2 separate regions of the Homo sapiens genome follow, and region 2 is linked to region 1. The links are contacts of gene promoters, found by promoter capture Hi-C in human tissues and cell types (Jung and others, 2019). All regions are on one chromosome and are shown on one strand. The core of a region is centred on a gene start or on the middle of the fragment in contact, and the rest is flanking DNA. Distances in the headings are between cores, read along the strand shown.

Region 1 (7,746 bases), core at 2,094-4,593:
CTTGTGGATTTCATTTCTGCCTTTTAGTTTTTACTTTTTCTTTCTTTGGAGGCAGAAACTGGGCATAAGACAATATGAGGGGTGGTCTCCTCCCTTAAGAAGAGCGTCCCCAGGAGAAACAAGCTTGACCACTATGCTGTCACAGAGTTTCCTCTGACCACTGAGTCTGCCATGAAGAAGATAGAAGACAACAACACACTTGTGTTCACTGTGGATGTTAAAGCCACCAAGCACCAGATCAAACAGGCTGTGAAGAAGCTCTATGACACTGATGTGGCCAAAGTCCATGCCCTGATTAGGCCTGATGCAGGAAGAAGGCATAAGCTCCACTGGCTCCTGATTACAATGCTTTGGATATTGCCAACAAAATTGGGATCAACTTTGTTGCTGACCCAACAAAACTGGGATATTGCCAACAAAATTGGGGTCATCTAAACTGAGTCCAGCTGGCTAATTATAAATACATGTATCTTTTCACCAGGTTCATGCCTCTTTGTCAACTTCTGGTTGGGCTGGGGAGGCCATTCAAGGTACTGAGGTTGTAATAGGGCCTGGGCAAGACTCCTGTTCTACTTATCCTTTTGGAACACTCACTCTGCCACTCCACCATACTTGATCACTCCAGAGATCTTTATGACCAGAGCTAGTTGTCCTAAGAAAACCAGAACTTGTCTCCATGGTAGAGGTAAGAAAACAAGAAGCTGCCGGGTGGCGGTGGCTCAAGCCTATCACTTTGGGAGGCCCAGGCGGGCAAATCACTTGAGGCCAGGAGTTCGAGATCAGCCTGGCCAACATGGTGAAACCCCATGTCCACTAAAAAGACAAAAATTAGCCGGGCATGGTGGTGGGCACCTGTAGTCCCAGCTACTCAGGAGGCTGAGGCAGGAGAATCTGGGAGGCAGAGGTTGCAGCGAGCCAAGATCTGGCCACTGCACTTCAGCCTGGGTGACAGAACGAGACTCCGTCTCAAAAAAAAAAGAAAAAAGAAGAGGCTTTACAAGAACCCCTTCTTTTATCCCTGGAAGAGGCTGTGTGTGAAACCAATGCCCACAGTTTGAAGGGCATTAGCATTCATCTTAGGGGAGTGTGGGTTGGCTGGCTTTCAGGTAGCACTTTGACCTCACACACCCATCTACTATGTCCAACTGGTCTGTCTGCTTCCCTCAGCCTTAACCAATAAAGGACAAGGACTTAAAAAAAAAGAGTGGGAGTGAGGGGAACAAAGGGCATCTTTTTTTTTTTTTTTTTTTTGAGACAGAGTCTTGCTCTGTCTACCAGGCTGGAGTGCAGTGGTGCCATCTTTGCTCACTGCAACCTCCATCTCTGGGGTTCAAGCAGTTCTACTGCCTCAGCCTCCCTAGTAGCTGGGATTACAGGTGAGCTCCACTATGCCTAGCTAGTTTTTGTATTTTTACTTGAGACAGGGTTTCGCCATGTTGGCCAGGCTGGTCTCGAACTCCTGACCTCAGGTGATCCTCCTGCCTTGGCCTCCCAAAGTGCTGGAATTACAGGCGTGAGCCACTGCGCCCAGCTTTTTTTTTTTTTTTGGGGAAATGGGGTCTTCTCTGTTGCCCAGGCTGGAGTGTAGTGGCGTGATCACAGCTCACTGCGGCCTTGATCTCCCAGGCTCAATCGATCCTCCCACCTCAGCCTCTGGAGTAGCTGGGACCACAAGGGCGGGCCATCAAGGCTGGCTACTTTTTTTTTTTTTTAATTATTATTTGTAGAGATGAAGTCTCGCTATGTTGCCCAAGTTGGTCTCCAACTCCTGGGCTCTAAGGATTCTCCTGCCTTGCCCTCCCAAAGTGCCGGGATTACTTCTCCGTTGCTTAGTCAAGAACACTATGAAGAACTTTTGAGTAGTAACTTCAACTTACCCTTTGGGTTTGTATGTATGCTGTTACTTTTTTTTTTTTCTTCTGTTGCACAAAGGTATTATTCACCTTATGCAGTTTCAGCTCCACCCAGGTGCAAGCAGCTCTTAATCACCCTTAAGTTCAGCAGCCACTCTAAGCTAGCCTGAGGAGATAAAGTCCACACTTGACATACAGTTCTTTACATTCCTCCAATGTCACACAGGCACATTCACTTTCAAAATGCAGAATAGTTTGGTCTGCATTTTTCTGCCAGTCTTATCTGCATTTAGAACCTGTGGTGGTGGTTTCTTTTTTGCCAAGATAACCCCAGGGACAAGCTTTTTTTTTTTTTTTTGACCCTGGCACACCCCAGGACTTTTATAATCTTTTTGCCCAACAACCCATTGTTGAATTTTACTTCGACATGCCTGTACTTTACTTCTTGAAACAACTAATTTCATTCTGCAGTTTAAAAAGCAAATCCAGTAAGAAACTCAGAATCACAATCGTATGCTCTTTCATAGTTATCCTAGCGTTAAAAAAGATGCAAATTTAGATGAGAACCGTGTGTACCAGGGGGCTGTGACATCATTTTAAAAGTAAACGATCACACAGTGAACAATGCCGTGCTCCCATTAATATTCAATACGTACTGTACAACATTTCAAATTAGAGTTTAGTTTCTTCGCTACCAGGATCCTAGCGCCATAGGCTGTAAGTATTCAAATGCTTCTCGACTGTGATTGAGTTGGCTATGACAGTCCGTCAATGGGTCTGCAGGATCCCATTTAGTTTTAGCAACTGTGGCTGGTGTCCAGGAATGCGTTCATGCGATCTGAAAGTAAGCCTCTGGCTTAGGACAGCGGGGGGAACCAATTTGATCTTAGGAGGGTCCCTGCAGAGTGTTTGAGTCGCGAGGCGGGCCGGGGCAGGCCGCGTGCTCCCAGGCGCTTCCTTTACCAAGATGGCTTCGGCGCCCCGGCCCACAGGGGCGGCCATCTTGGTAAGGGCTGGAGAGGCAGCCTGAAGGAGGCCACCGCTGGCCCTGCTGTCAGATTCGAAGGTCATAATAAGGGAGTGACCCGGCGACGACTCGCCCCAACGATGGCGAGGCGGCGAGAGCTGAAGCGCTGCCTGCAGCTGCTGGCGTCCTCGGCGGAGCCAGCGCGGCGGGCTCGGGTTAGGAAGAACCCGAGCGCCTGCCGCGGTCGCCCCTCCCGCTACGCGGCGGCGCTTTGCGCGGGGACTCTGTGGCCGGAAGCCGCGGAACTGAGGCGGCGCGCGCTCCCGGCCACCCCAAGCGCGAGGTGAGTCCGCACCCCCGCGCTCGCACCCCGCCGCTCTGGCCGCGCGCCCGCGGCCCGGGATCCCGAGTGTCCGGAGCTCCGTGGTTTCTGTTGGACCTCGCGGGAGGCGGTTTTCTCCCGCCTGCTGTGCTCTGTGACCTCTCTGCTGCCTCCTCCACGGTCTCTGGGCGGAGCAATCCACACTGCTGAGCCTGGGGTGGTTTGGAATTCTTCGGCGAAGTGGAGCGGGCTGAGAGTGGGTTTCCCGTCCCCGAGCCCTCCCTCATCTCGGAGATGCCGCACTTGTGAGCGACAGGGCTTCATTTGAATTTTCGCACCTCGCGAGTTGCGGAGCCTGCATCTCTGAAGCTGCCTCGGTGAAGAGCCACAGCATTATTTTTTTTCTCTTTGGGAGAGTAGCTGTCTGGGATTTGAGATCCTATCTTCCCTGCAAATTACCAGGTTGCATCTTCACTGATAGGAATACATGTGGGTTTATCTTCTTTTGGTTGTATGTAAATGAATGGGTCGACAACTTCCTCCGAGCAACTTATTGTTGCTTCATCTATAGTGTTTATCTTCTAAAAATCCATTCCAACAGGTTTCTCCCCTTTTATTTTGGAATAAGTGTACTTATTTAACTATGGAATGGAAATGAAGAGCAAAAAAAAAAATGGGGCTAGCTGGGGAGGGGTGGTGGAAGGCTGTGCTTTCTTGAGTTTTCTGTTCTGTGGTTGTTTGCTTCTTATAAATTGGGTATTATTGTGGGCTTTTCAGAACACGTATTCAGATAGGTTTTTGTTGTTGTTGTTTTGTTTGTTTGTTTTTTCCTTTTTTTTTTTTTTCAAGCTAGAGCTCGATATGGTAGATACTCTTCCATGGGTTCCGGGATCACATGCATTCATTATACGTCAGTTAAACCTGGAAAATATTAAGGGAGTGAGTAAAGTTTAACAGCCTTTTAAAAAGTCATTTAGTTCTTGTCTTTGCCTTTACTGTACGTTGTTATATATACATGTTATAATATGACTGACTCACCTGGTTGGCTTTGGCTTAGCATGAAATGTTTGCTACTTGATAATTCTGATTAATTTGTCCAGGAAGTCATTCCTGAGATGCAGTTCTTCAAATTGAGAAATAATTCCCATGTTTGTTAAAAAATGGAAATCTCTAACATTTCCATTTCTATTTTCAGTTACATTGGTTATGAATTAGCCGCAGACATGGACATCGTTTAGAAAGAAGTTATGTAATCTTTAAAAAGAAGATTACCTATATCCCACAATAGTGTGATTTTTGTTGCAAGAAAATACTGGGTCTGTTAAAGAAGAAATTTAGGGTAAAAGTACTTATTTAAAATAATAATTTAAGGAGAGATTGAGGGGTTAAATTTGTTTCAAGTCAACTGAAAATATAGTCAGGATTTTCAGAGATTTTGTTTTGTTAACATTCTGCAGGCTTTCCTGCTACAAGAATTATGGTAAGTCTCCAAGAGATAAAAATACTTAGTGTATTTCTCATACCCTTATTTTCACTCAGAATTCCAAATTATATTGTAGAAATTCTATGTTACAAAATTCTAATTTTAAAATTAGTCCAGTTATAACTATATGAAGAACATTTTAGCATAAGCATTCCATCACAGGGTTTTGGTTATACTTTAGTTGATACAGTCATTCTTGTGTTTGTTCGAAAGGGGTATTATGTTACTTTGAGTATTTGTGAGTTTGGTAAACTGAGAGGATTTTTATGAACATTTAGTCTGTGTTTGGAAAAGCAGTATTTGCCTTTAATTTTGTTGTTTCATTCTGCTTTTTCTTTGTGGTGATGGATAGCTGTGGATATAGTGAGTTTTTCCATTGCTTTCTACACTTTGTAAATAAGAATATAGCTATAGCTGGAGGACTGTTGATCTGGGCTTTTTAGGTTGAAATGCATACACATAAAAAGTGTTTTCATTGAAGTATTATTAGGGAAATGAACTGTATGTATAATTAATCGTTAAAGAGCACTTTTATTCTGGAGGCCAGTGAGGGCATGCATAAAACTGGCATTAAAATATCACCCATGTGATTTCCAGCATAAGATTCAAGTAATATTTCATTCTAACGCCTATACTACTGAATAATTCTGTCTACAATTTATAGTGCTTTGCTTGATTTGTCTTTTGAATTTATTAACCATTTATTGTGTATTTAAGTATTTTACTAACAGACTTTGGAGACAGATTGCATACGAACTCATATATCCCCAGGGGCAGTTTTATGTTAGAGATAGTCTTCTGCAACCTCAGCTGGTTAAATAATGTATTATAACTTTATCATTTACAAAGCTCTTTCAAATATTTTAAATATATGTATATATATAGAGAGAGTTTGATTTTATAGACATAAAATATGAGCCTTGTTCCACAGATGAGGAAAATAGGACACCAAGAGCCTGGGAGAGTCTGGTGATTTGGCCAAGGAACCTTAGCTCAGCAGCCCCAGCCTTCAGCAGAATATATACACTGCAGACTCTTGTTACAGCGGGGTTCCAATGAAGCGAAAGTGGAGGGGTGTGGATTAGCAAGCGTTGGTCAGCAACACACTCACAGATTGCACCCCTGCCTGTGGGTAACAGGTTGTGAATGGCCAGTGCTGTTGGCTCTGGAGGCACAGGTCTGGCATGTAGATGGATCAGCATAATTCAAAATCTTGATTGAAAAACAACTCAGTTTGTGCCTGCTACCTGGAACAATCCATTTTTCCCCTTGAAGGTGCAGACTCTTGTGTTTATCTAATTTGGGCACCTTCCCAGATTAAGGGACAGTAATATATTGATTTAACACTGAATGCCTGTAGGCTTCTGCGTGATTTTGTAATCTCTCTCAATTACAAGAATGAATAGAGAAACACCAAGCTTTCTCATTGTCACTAGCACTCTTGAACTGGTCACATCTTTTTTTTTTTTTTTGAGACGGAGTCTCGCTCTGTCACCCAAGCTAGCGTGCGGTGGGGCAATCTCGGCTGACTGCAACCTGTGCCTCGTGTGTTCAAGCGATACTCATGCCTCAGCCTCCTGAGAAGTTGGAATTACAGGCATGTGCCACCACACCCAGCTAAAACTGGTCACATCTTAATAGGACACCCGGATGACAGCAGTCATTAGTTTTGAAAGTTATTATTTTCTGTATTTTGAAGGTCCTTCAATTACAAAGATGTTCTCTGTTCAAGTTACTGTGTTTGTTCCTTCAGTTTGTTTAGAGAGCTCATGGAAAGCTCTCTAAACTAAGCTGTCTATATATTCTGAACATATATGTGTGTGCGTGCGTGTGTGTGTGTGTGTTTTCCAGAATGTTGTGCTATTTTATGGTAAAAGTAGCCAATGAAAGCTTAAAGAGTTTCTGGACTCAAATTCTTTTTTTTTTTTTAAACTTGAAGCCAAACTAAGTAAAATACCCCACATAAAGTAAAATGTGTCATTTATCTTCCTATGCTGATTGTATGCCCCTTCGGTTCCAAGTGTTTTTAAGCATAATTAGGGTGACAGCATGGCTGATACGTAGTCCAGGCTCCATCATCAGCCAGAGCTAGATCCTTGGAATGTCATGTAACTCTCTGGCCTGACTTGGTTTACCGATTAGGTAAAAGGGTCACACAAGTGATGACTTCTGTCATGGAATGTTCAAGTTGGAAGGGACCTTAGAGGGAATGTACCTGGTCCAATCTCTTTAATGTGCATATTTTTAATTTCTGCTGTCACAGGAGTTTAGCCTGTCATGATTACCTCAAAATTGAAACATTGAAATTAGGCTTTTCCACCATTTCACAGATATGAAATACTTTACAATTCTTGGCTGAAAGTTGATTTTCTTTCTCAATCTTTCCTCATATAGTGTCTCACTTTTATGTGTAGACTAAATGCCGATTGTATATAAATGTACATGTGCTGTTTGGAGCCTCTTTTTTAGCTGGGTGAACGCTAATACTGATGATGCACATATTGAATATCATCAGAATGAAGAATTTGATCTAATAAACTTTTTTGGTATTCTTAGCAACATTGTCTTAGTTAAGCCTGATTACGTATAGCATTATAATTTTTTTCTTTTGCTTAGCCACCCGAATACCTTCACATCTTACTTTATAATCTTCATCTTCAATTTAGTTTAAACTGCGCACACATTTATAAATTTTTTTGAAGATATGACTATGCATTTATATGGTCACCTGAGACATAGAATGATCAACCCTCCAGGTTTTCCCAGAACCAAGGGAGTTCCCAAGATGCAGGAATTTTTTTTTTTGAGACAAGAGTCTTGCTGTGTTGCCCAGGCTGGAGTGCAGTGGCTCAATCTCAGCCTACTGCAACCTCCACCTTCAGGTTCAAGCAATTCTTGTGCCTCAGCCTCCTGAGTAGCTGGGACTACAGGCATGCACTACCATGCCTGGCTAATTTTTGTATTTTTAGTAGAGACAGAGTTTTGCCATGTTGGCCAAGCTGGTCTCGAACTCCTGGCCTCAAATGATCTGCTTGCTTCATTCAGCCTCTGAAAGTGCTGGGATTACAGGTGTGAGCCACCACACCTGGCCTAAGATGCAGGACTTTAAATGTTAACACTG
Region 2 (7,746 bases), core at 1,743-4,242, 130 kb before region 1:
TAGGAGTTTTAGACCAGCCTGGGCAACATAGTGATACCCCATCTCTACAAAAATAAACAAATTAGCTGTGTGTGGTGGCCTGCACCTGTAGTCCTTGCTACTCAGGAGGCTGAGGCAGGAGGATACCTTGAGCCCAGGAGTTCAAGGTTTCAGTGAGCACCATCACACTTTAGCCTGTGTGACAGTGAGACCCTATCTTGAGAAAAAAAAAAAAAGCTAAATAATATGCAGCCGACACATGAAAAAATGCTCATCATCACTGGCCATTAGAGAAATGCAAATCAAAACCACAATGAGATACTATCTCACACCAGTTAGAATGGCGATCATTAAAAAGTCAGGAAACAACAGGTGCTGGAGAGGATGTGGAGAAATAGGAACACTTTTACACTATTGGTGGGACTGTAAACTAGTTCAACCATTGTGGAAGTCAGTGTGGCGATTCCTCAGGGATCTAGAAGTAGAAATACCATTTGACCCAGCCATCCCATTACTGGGTATATGCCCAAAGGATTATAAATCATGCTGCTATAAAGACACATGCACACATATGTTTATTGCGGCACAATTCACAATAGCAAAGACTTGGAACCAACCCAAATGTCCATCAATGATAGACTGGATTAAGAAAATGTGGCACATATACACCATGGAATACTCTGCAGCCATAAAAAATGATGAGTTCATGTCCTTTGTAGGGACATGGATGAAGCTGGAAACCAGCATTCTCAGCAAAGTGTCACAAGGACAAAAAATCAAACACCGCATGTTCTCACTCACAGGTGGGAATTGAACAATGAGAACACTTGGACACAGGAAGGGGAACATCACACACCGGGGCCTGTCGTGGGGTGGGGGGAGCGGGGAGGGATAGCATTAGGAGATATACCTAATGTAAATGTTGAGTTAATGGGTGCAGCACACCAACATGGCACATGTATACATATGTAACAAACCTGCACGTTGTGCACGTGTACCCTAGAACTTAAAGTATAATAAAAACATATATATATAAAAGCTAAATCATGAGGCATCTCTGTTTCAAAGATGATAAGATAATGCAAGAATATATTGCATAATTATATGGGCTGGAGAAAAAGCATAATTAATATGGGCTGGAGAAATGGGCTGGGGCTTGGAAGGTGACAGCATTCAGATGGGCAGGGAGAAAAGGATGTAAAAGCCAAGGGATGGCTTTTCCACATGAATAAAGGAATTCAGCAGTTATGATGTCTCAGGCTGTGGACTTCACCTGAAATGACTGAGATGGAAGATTTTGTGCCCGAGGAAGTGGGAAATTAAAGTTGAAAAGGTATATTGGGCAAATATTGAAGGCATTGGTGAGCAAGCCTAGGACTTGACTTGTGGGCCACGAACATTTTTGTGCTGTGTTGCATCAGGAAAAATTAACCTGGCCACAATGAGCCATGCTTTAGACTGGTCAGTTAGGATATGGGAGTTCAATTTGATCCATCATCAAACAGATGGAAAGTGAAGCGGTGTGGGCTCCAGCATGTGGCCCGTGACAGAGGACATGGAAAATGTCAGTGGCCCCAGTGCATCTGTGCCAGCCGCTTTGGCCTCTTGTAGGGCTGTGCGGTGACTGGGAGCTAAGCGCTCCCCTCTTAGTTGGTCCTGGCTGGTGCTGAAAGCGCTTGAGCACACCGCTCCTAGGGCTGATGACTTCTGAGGAACCTTATTGGAAAAGCATTTTCCCCTAAGATTCAGTAAACGCTGTCCCGTGCCAAGGAAGGGGCGTCAACCTGAGGCTCTGGGATCAGACCCACCAGACTCACGCCGGCTCTGCCACGTGTTGCCCGCAGTCTCGGCCCGTTCCCTCCGTGTTGGCAACGGGCACTGACTGTCCGATACCTCAGCGATCGTAGGAGAGCAGAGACGTTCCTAATGCCCGGAGCACCACCGGCGGGCCGGCGGTTCCGTTGGCTTCCCTGACACACTTCCTACAGTCATTTCTTTCAGCTGAGATCTTCCCCTTCAATACCTCGTTAATTAACGTGTAACCTTTTGGTTAAAATGTCAGAGCTAAGACTAAACGCGAAGAAAAGAATGAAACCACGGGAAGTTCTTCAGACTTAGTCGCCAGCAAGGTTATGGCCCGAAGCGGTGCAGGGGCGGCGCGCGGGGAAGCTACTGGCGGAGCTGTGCGCACTGCGGGTGCTGCAGGCGCTGGGGAGAGTGTGGAGAGGCTGCGTGGAGCTGTGCGCTCGGGGTGGGGGCTGCACTCCCAATGAAGCGCGTGAAGGGCAAGCGGTGATGGGTTCTGCGCCAGTGGGGCTGGGAGCCTGTCGGGGGCTGTACGTGAGGCTGCGCGCAAGGTGAGAACTGCGCATGTGGGCTTAGGAACTGCGCGCACCGAAGTCTGCAGGCGCTGGGGAGGGTGTGGGGGGCTGTGCGTGGGGCTGCCCTCACCGGAAGCTGCACGCTCGGGGAAGCGCGGAGGCGGGGGTGCTGCGCGCGCTGGGGAGCACGTGGGGGGACACGCAGGGACTGCCCGCGCGAATGGCTTCCAACGCATGCGCCCCACCCTACATTTCACAGTCGCCATGACGACCAGGAGGTCCGCTAGTCAACGGCTCGTCAACGGCTGCGGGGACAAGTCCGTTGAGGCTGCCAGGCGAGTCAGGCCTTTCTGGACCTCGCCTGACTCGGCTGGGCTGTGCCTGAAATTGACCCAGCTCCACTAGGAATTATGAAGAAACAAGGAGTAAGCCCAAAGCCGCTGCAATCTTCCCGCCCCAGCCCGTCTAAGCGGCCCTGCGGGGCCTCCCCCGCCCGGGAGCGGGAGGTGGAAAAGTCGGCCCTAGGCGGCGGGAAACTGCCGGGGGGCGCCAGGAGGTCCTCCCCGGGGAGGATCCCAAATCTGAAAAAGCGAAAAGGCTTGGAGCTAAAGGTGGTGGCCAAGGCCCTTCTCGGCCCCTTCCAGTTCGTCTGTAATTCCCTGGCGCAGCTCCGGGAAGAGGTGCACGAACTGCAGGCGCGGTGGTTCCCCAGCAGAACCACTCTGCATCGGTAAGGAGAGGTCAGGAGAGCCCTAGGAGGGAGGCGCATCGCGCTTTTCTTCAGTCTTGAAGGAGATCAGTTTAACAAGCAAGGGTTTGTGGGTCCCTAGTAGGAAATAATAGCAAGGTCCGAGTAGACAGAAGTTGGCCAAAAATCTTGTCATTGAACCAGGGGAGAGAGAGAGATAGGGAGTATATTGGTTTGAAGGGCTGTCAGATCGCAGAGAGTGTTTTAAGGTCTAGGAGTTTTAAAGGCTGAGGGGAAGGATCAAGGGAAGAGGATGAGATTAAGATTCCAAGAGAGGAAATAATTAGTGGAGCAAGTCTTGGAATATTTGGAAGGGTAGAATTAAAGGCACAAATGTGAGAAGCTAACTGTGGAAAAGAGGAGAGAGAATTCCTTTTCTGAGATGGCAGGGAGTAGAAAAGCAAGAATTACTATATGGAGAAATGTTAAAGTGGAGATGAAAGAAGCTGGGAGTGCTGGCGTCTAATGGTCTTTGTTTCAGTGAAGTATGAGGCTGGGTCACCTTCAGAGGTGAGATTGATAGGATGCTGGGGTCCAGGGGACATGCTTCTGTCACAGCTTGGAAAGGGCATGTGATAAGCCCTTCAAGCATTTAGAATACTGGCATCATTACACCTTATCATTTTTTTCATATGTGGTATGTGGGTTAAGGGAGGGAGTGAGAGACAGAAAGATTTTGAGCATCTTTGGAAAGCTGGATGAATTTGGTACTATATTTGACCTTTTCCTTATGTATCATCTGAAGAGTTTTTGCCAGTGTATATAATTGTTAGGAGAATTAGAAATAGGATACAAATATAGTTGAACAGGATAGTCTGTATATTTTAAAATTAATGAAGCCTAATAAACAATTAATGAGCATCTTTACAACCATTTAAAGTTTTCAACCTTTTAAAAATTATAGCAACCGTGCTTGCAGACAGTCCAAAAATACACCATGGGCCATACTTTGCCTATCCTGGTATAAAACAAGTAAATCTTCCGAGAAGTGTTTAAGATAAGCCCAGGACAGTTAGTAATATAGGAAAAGATCTGGGTAAGCATGGTTGAGAATTTCAACATTGCAATTTTTTAATTTTTAAAAATTTAATTTCTTCAATAATTATTGAATTAATTTGCATTTATTTTGTTAGCCAAGTGAAGTAATTTTTGAATTTTTAAGAGGCTATTATTGGTGGTTTATAAGATGACTTGCCAAGTATATTTGGGATAACCATAAGAAATACCATTATAAAATCTCAGAAGGGAAGTAGGACTTCTGGAATAGCCAAGGAAATGCACTCCTCCATGACGACAATGAAAATACTTGGAAAATTATCAAAATCATTTCCTTCAAAACTTTGGAAATTAACCAAAGGTTTACAACAATGTAAAGGGCATTAATTCAAGAAAAGCTGCTGAACCTCTATAAGAACAGCAAAGTTTGTGGTGTTTTAACTTGTTCTATTCCCCACTCTTCTCTCTCCAGGGGAATTGAAAACAAGGAATTCCCCAACCAAACAGGGGCACAGGCTGTGTTTGCAGCTCCTGTAAAAGCTCCATACCCAGAGCCGTGTCTCCCAGCTCCCAGGTGAAGTCTTATGTATACATGGGGCATTGGCCCAGGTGACTCCATACTAGTATCCTAGGCCATCTAGTAGCTCCTAGGTCTGGGCTCTTGCAAAAAGCTTGCAATTCATCAAGGGTTGAGCTGCACATTGGGGCTTTTAGATGTGCTGCTGAGGAAGTGATTTCCTGCATTTAATCATCTTCCGATGAATGCTAGAGAAACTGATCTAGAGTGGCTCCTCTTGGTTAGAACTAGCTGAAGCATACTGTATATACTTACTACTTTTAAAAATTTCATATAAAGGAATAGAAAATAATACTGGAAAAAAAACAAAAAAGGTCACAATCTTCCATAATTCCATCACTCTTACCAATTACCTGAAGTTAAAAAACCCTCTCAAGTTTCTCCCTTTGCTTATCAAGCCCTGCTGCAGAGAGGTAAGCTCTGTTCAGAATTTGCTTTGTGTCCTGGATTTTTTCCTATGCTCACAGAGACAGGATTAGCTGGCGGTCTTGCTTTGTGTGCTATCTTTCTAGACATGTAAAATAATACATTTGAAATACTTGTTTTAATGGTATTTTATAATAAAGCAGCTATTAATAACTTTCCTTTTTTTCTTTATTCCAGCCGTCTTTGTGGCAATTCTACATTGGTAAGATGTAGTTTCAGTTTGAAATATTTAAAAACATTTGAATTAAAAATTGCCATCACTCTTTGCATACAGTAAAACAATAACTTCTGGCTATATTTGTAGAACATCTTTATGTGCACCAATTTATACATGTATTTTGCTTTTTTACAAACCTCATATGTGAAACAGCATTTACAAAATAGATGCATTAGGGGAATAGTAACTTATGAATTAAAATATTTTTGCTTTACCAAATAATTCACCACACGTTTCTTTAAATATCTAGCTTTTCTAGTGTGTTTTGCATGTGTAGTTCATTTAAAACCTTCCTTTACTTTATGGTAATTATATGTTGCTAGTGAAATAACTTTTTTTTTTTTTTGAGACAGAGTCTTGCTCTGTCTCCCAGGCTGGAGTGCAGTGGTGTGATCTTGACTCACTGCAACCTCTGCCTCCCAGGCACAAGTGATCCTTGTGCCTCAGCCTTCCAAGTAGCTGGGATTACAGGTGTGCACCACCAGACCCAGCCAATTTGTTGTATTTTTGGTGGAGACAAGGTTTCACCATGTTGGCCAGGCTGGTGTCAAACTCCTGGCCTCAAATGATCCACCTGCCTCGGCCTCCCAAAGTGTTGGGATTACAGGCATGAGCCACCACACTCAGCCAGTGAAATAACTTTGGTGATAAAGTTTTAGTAACACCTGCCAATTGGAAATCAGGTAAAAAAGAAGGTAAAGATTCTGCAGTGGTTATATGGTTAAATGGCTCTGAGTCTTTCAGTGTGCAAGCCTGTGTACATTATTTTACAAAAGTGTTTATAAAAATTTGTAAAATAATATTTCCTTCTGAAATATTTTATTTTTACCTGTGCTCAGTGATTTCTACCCTTGGGAGGTATGAGATCTGCCCCTATGTTCTATTGACACAGTGCTGCTCTAGACATTTAGTCTGCAGGGAGATTTTGATGTTAGAACTGAGGCTGCAATGGTAGGGAATATTCCTGCAGTTTTTGGTACCCTGGCATATGGCCTACATGTAAAGAAGGGTTAGTGGAAAACAGGGTTAATATATGGAACTTTGCTTTATTTTCAACTTCACTGGAAAGTACTGACTACATAAGTTAGCTATAGCATAATTGTTGGCCATAGCTAATTTTGTTTATCACATATGCTCTTTTCTTCACTGCCTATAGCTGTTGAGTTTCACTACTAAAAGGTCTTCAAGTACACACCTGTATTCTTTGGCACTTGAAAGTTGATCTTTTATGTGATATTATACTTATTGTAAGTCTGCTTTGATCTAAAGTAATTTTATTTAAAATTATATTCTGAACCCTCTTCAACAGTTATGGAGGTATTTCCCAAGGCTGGTACATTAGAATCACTTGAAACTTAAAAAACAAACACTAACCTGCCTCTGTTCTGATTTAGAGGCCTGGGATGGAAGGAAGGGTGAAAAAAGCCACAAGAATTTTAGATATACAATTAAGGTTTTTTTTTGTTTTTGTTTTTTTGAGACAGAGTCTCTATCTGTCACCCAGGCTGGAGTGCAGTGGCATGATCTCTGCTCACTGCAACCTCCACCTGCTGGATTCAAGAAATTCTCCTGCCTCAGCCTCCCTAGCAGCGAGGATTACAGACATGCACTACTATGGCTGGCTAATTTTTGTGTTTTTAGTAGAGACGGGGTTTCACCATGTTGGCAAGGCTGGTCTCGAACTCCTCACCTCAAGTGATCTGCCCGCCTCGGGCTCCCAAAGTGCTGGGATTACAGGCATGAGCCAACGTACCCGGCCACAATTAAGCTTAAAAACCACTGAGTTAAGGAATTTCAGGTGTGTGCCATACTGGATTATAAATGCCGAAAAACATACAAGTTAGTAAGCAAATTATAAAATTAATATTATAACAATTTATTGTTTTCTTTTTTATGGCTTTCTTATTGTTTATTTTACTGTTAGTTTTGAAACTTGTTCTTATTTTAATATGATTCTTCATTTTTTTCTAGGTTACATTTAGTAACACTTTTTGAAAATGATCATCATTTCTCTCACCTCTCATCTTTGGAACGGGAGATGACTTTTTGCATTGAAACGGTTAGGTTTCTTCTTCTAACGAATTAATTTGTGGTTTAAGAATAGCCAGACCGAGAGGTGACAGCATGCTGGCAGTCCTCAGAGCCCTTGCTTGCTCTCGGCACCTCCCCTGCCTGGGCTCCCGCTTTGGTGGCATTTGAGGAGCCCTTCAGTCCCCCACTGCACTGTGGGAGCCCCTTTCTGGGCTGGCCAAGGCCGGAGCCCACTCCCTCAGCTTGCAGGGAGGTGTGGAGGGAGAGACACGAGCGGGAACCGGGGCTGTGTGCTGCACTTGCGGGCCATCTGGAGTTCCGGGTGGGCGTGGGCTTGGTGGGCCCCGCACTCAGAGCAGCCAGCCAGCCCTGCTGGCCCCGGGCAATGGGGGACTTAGCACCTGGGCCAGTGGCTGCGGAGGGTGTACTGAGTCCCCCAGCAGTGCTGGCC

The links. The method cuts DNA at HindIII sites, captures the fragments that hold promoters and counts their contacts. A contact is called where the count stands out against the background at its distance.
Region 2: a fragment that was not itself captured here is called in contact with the fragment with the promoter of NAPEPLD in region 1 in 1 of the 25 tissues and cell types used here (hippocampus).

Annotation. Positions count from the first base shown.
Region 1 is chr7:103,144,696-103,152,441 of GRCh38, reverse strand. NAPEPLD (N-acyl phosphatidylethanolamine phospholipase D) reads left to right here and starts at 3,343. Exons shown (of 5, transcript NM_001122838.3): 1 at 3,343-3,631. LOC105375434 reads right to left here. Exons shown (of 3, transcript XM_047421168.1): 2 at 1,878-3,424. The coding sequence ends at 2,622. It also overlaps the pseudogene RPL23AP95. The HindIII fragment of the contact is 5,120 bases long and covers 1,160-6,279 here.
Region 2 is chr7:103,275,117-103,282,862 of GRCh38, reverse strand. It overlaps the pseudogene DPY19L2P2. Among named protein-coding and RNA genes, the nearest start is that of PMPCB, 18 kb to the left of the region's middle. RefSeq lists enhancers at 1,744-2,265, 2,985-3,034 and a silencer at 2,375-2,524. The HindIII fragment of the contact is 9,582 bases long and covers 1-7,746 here.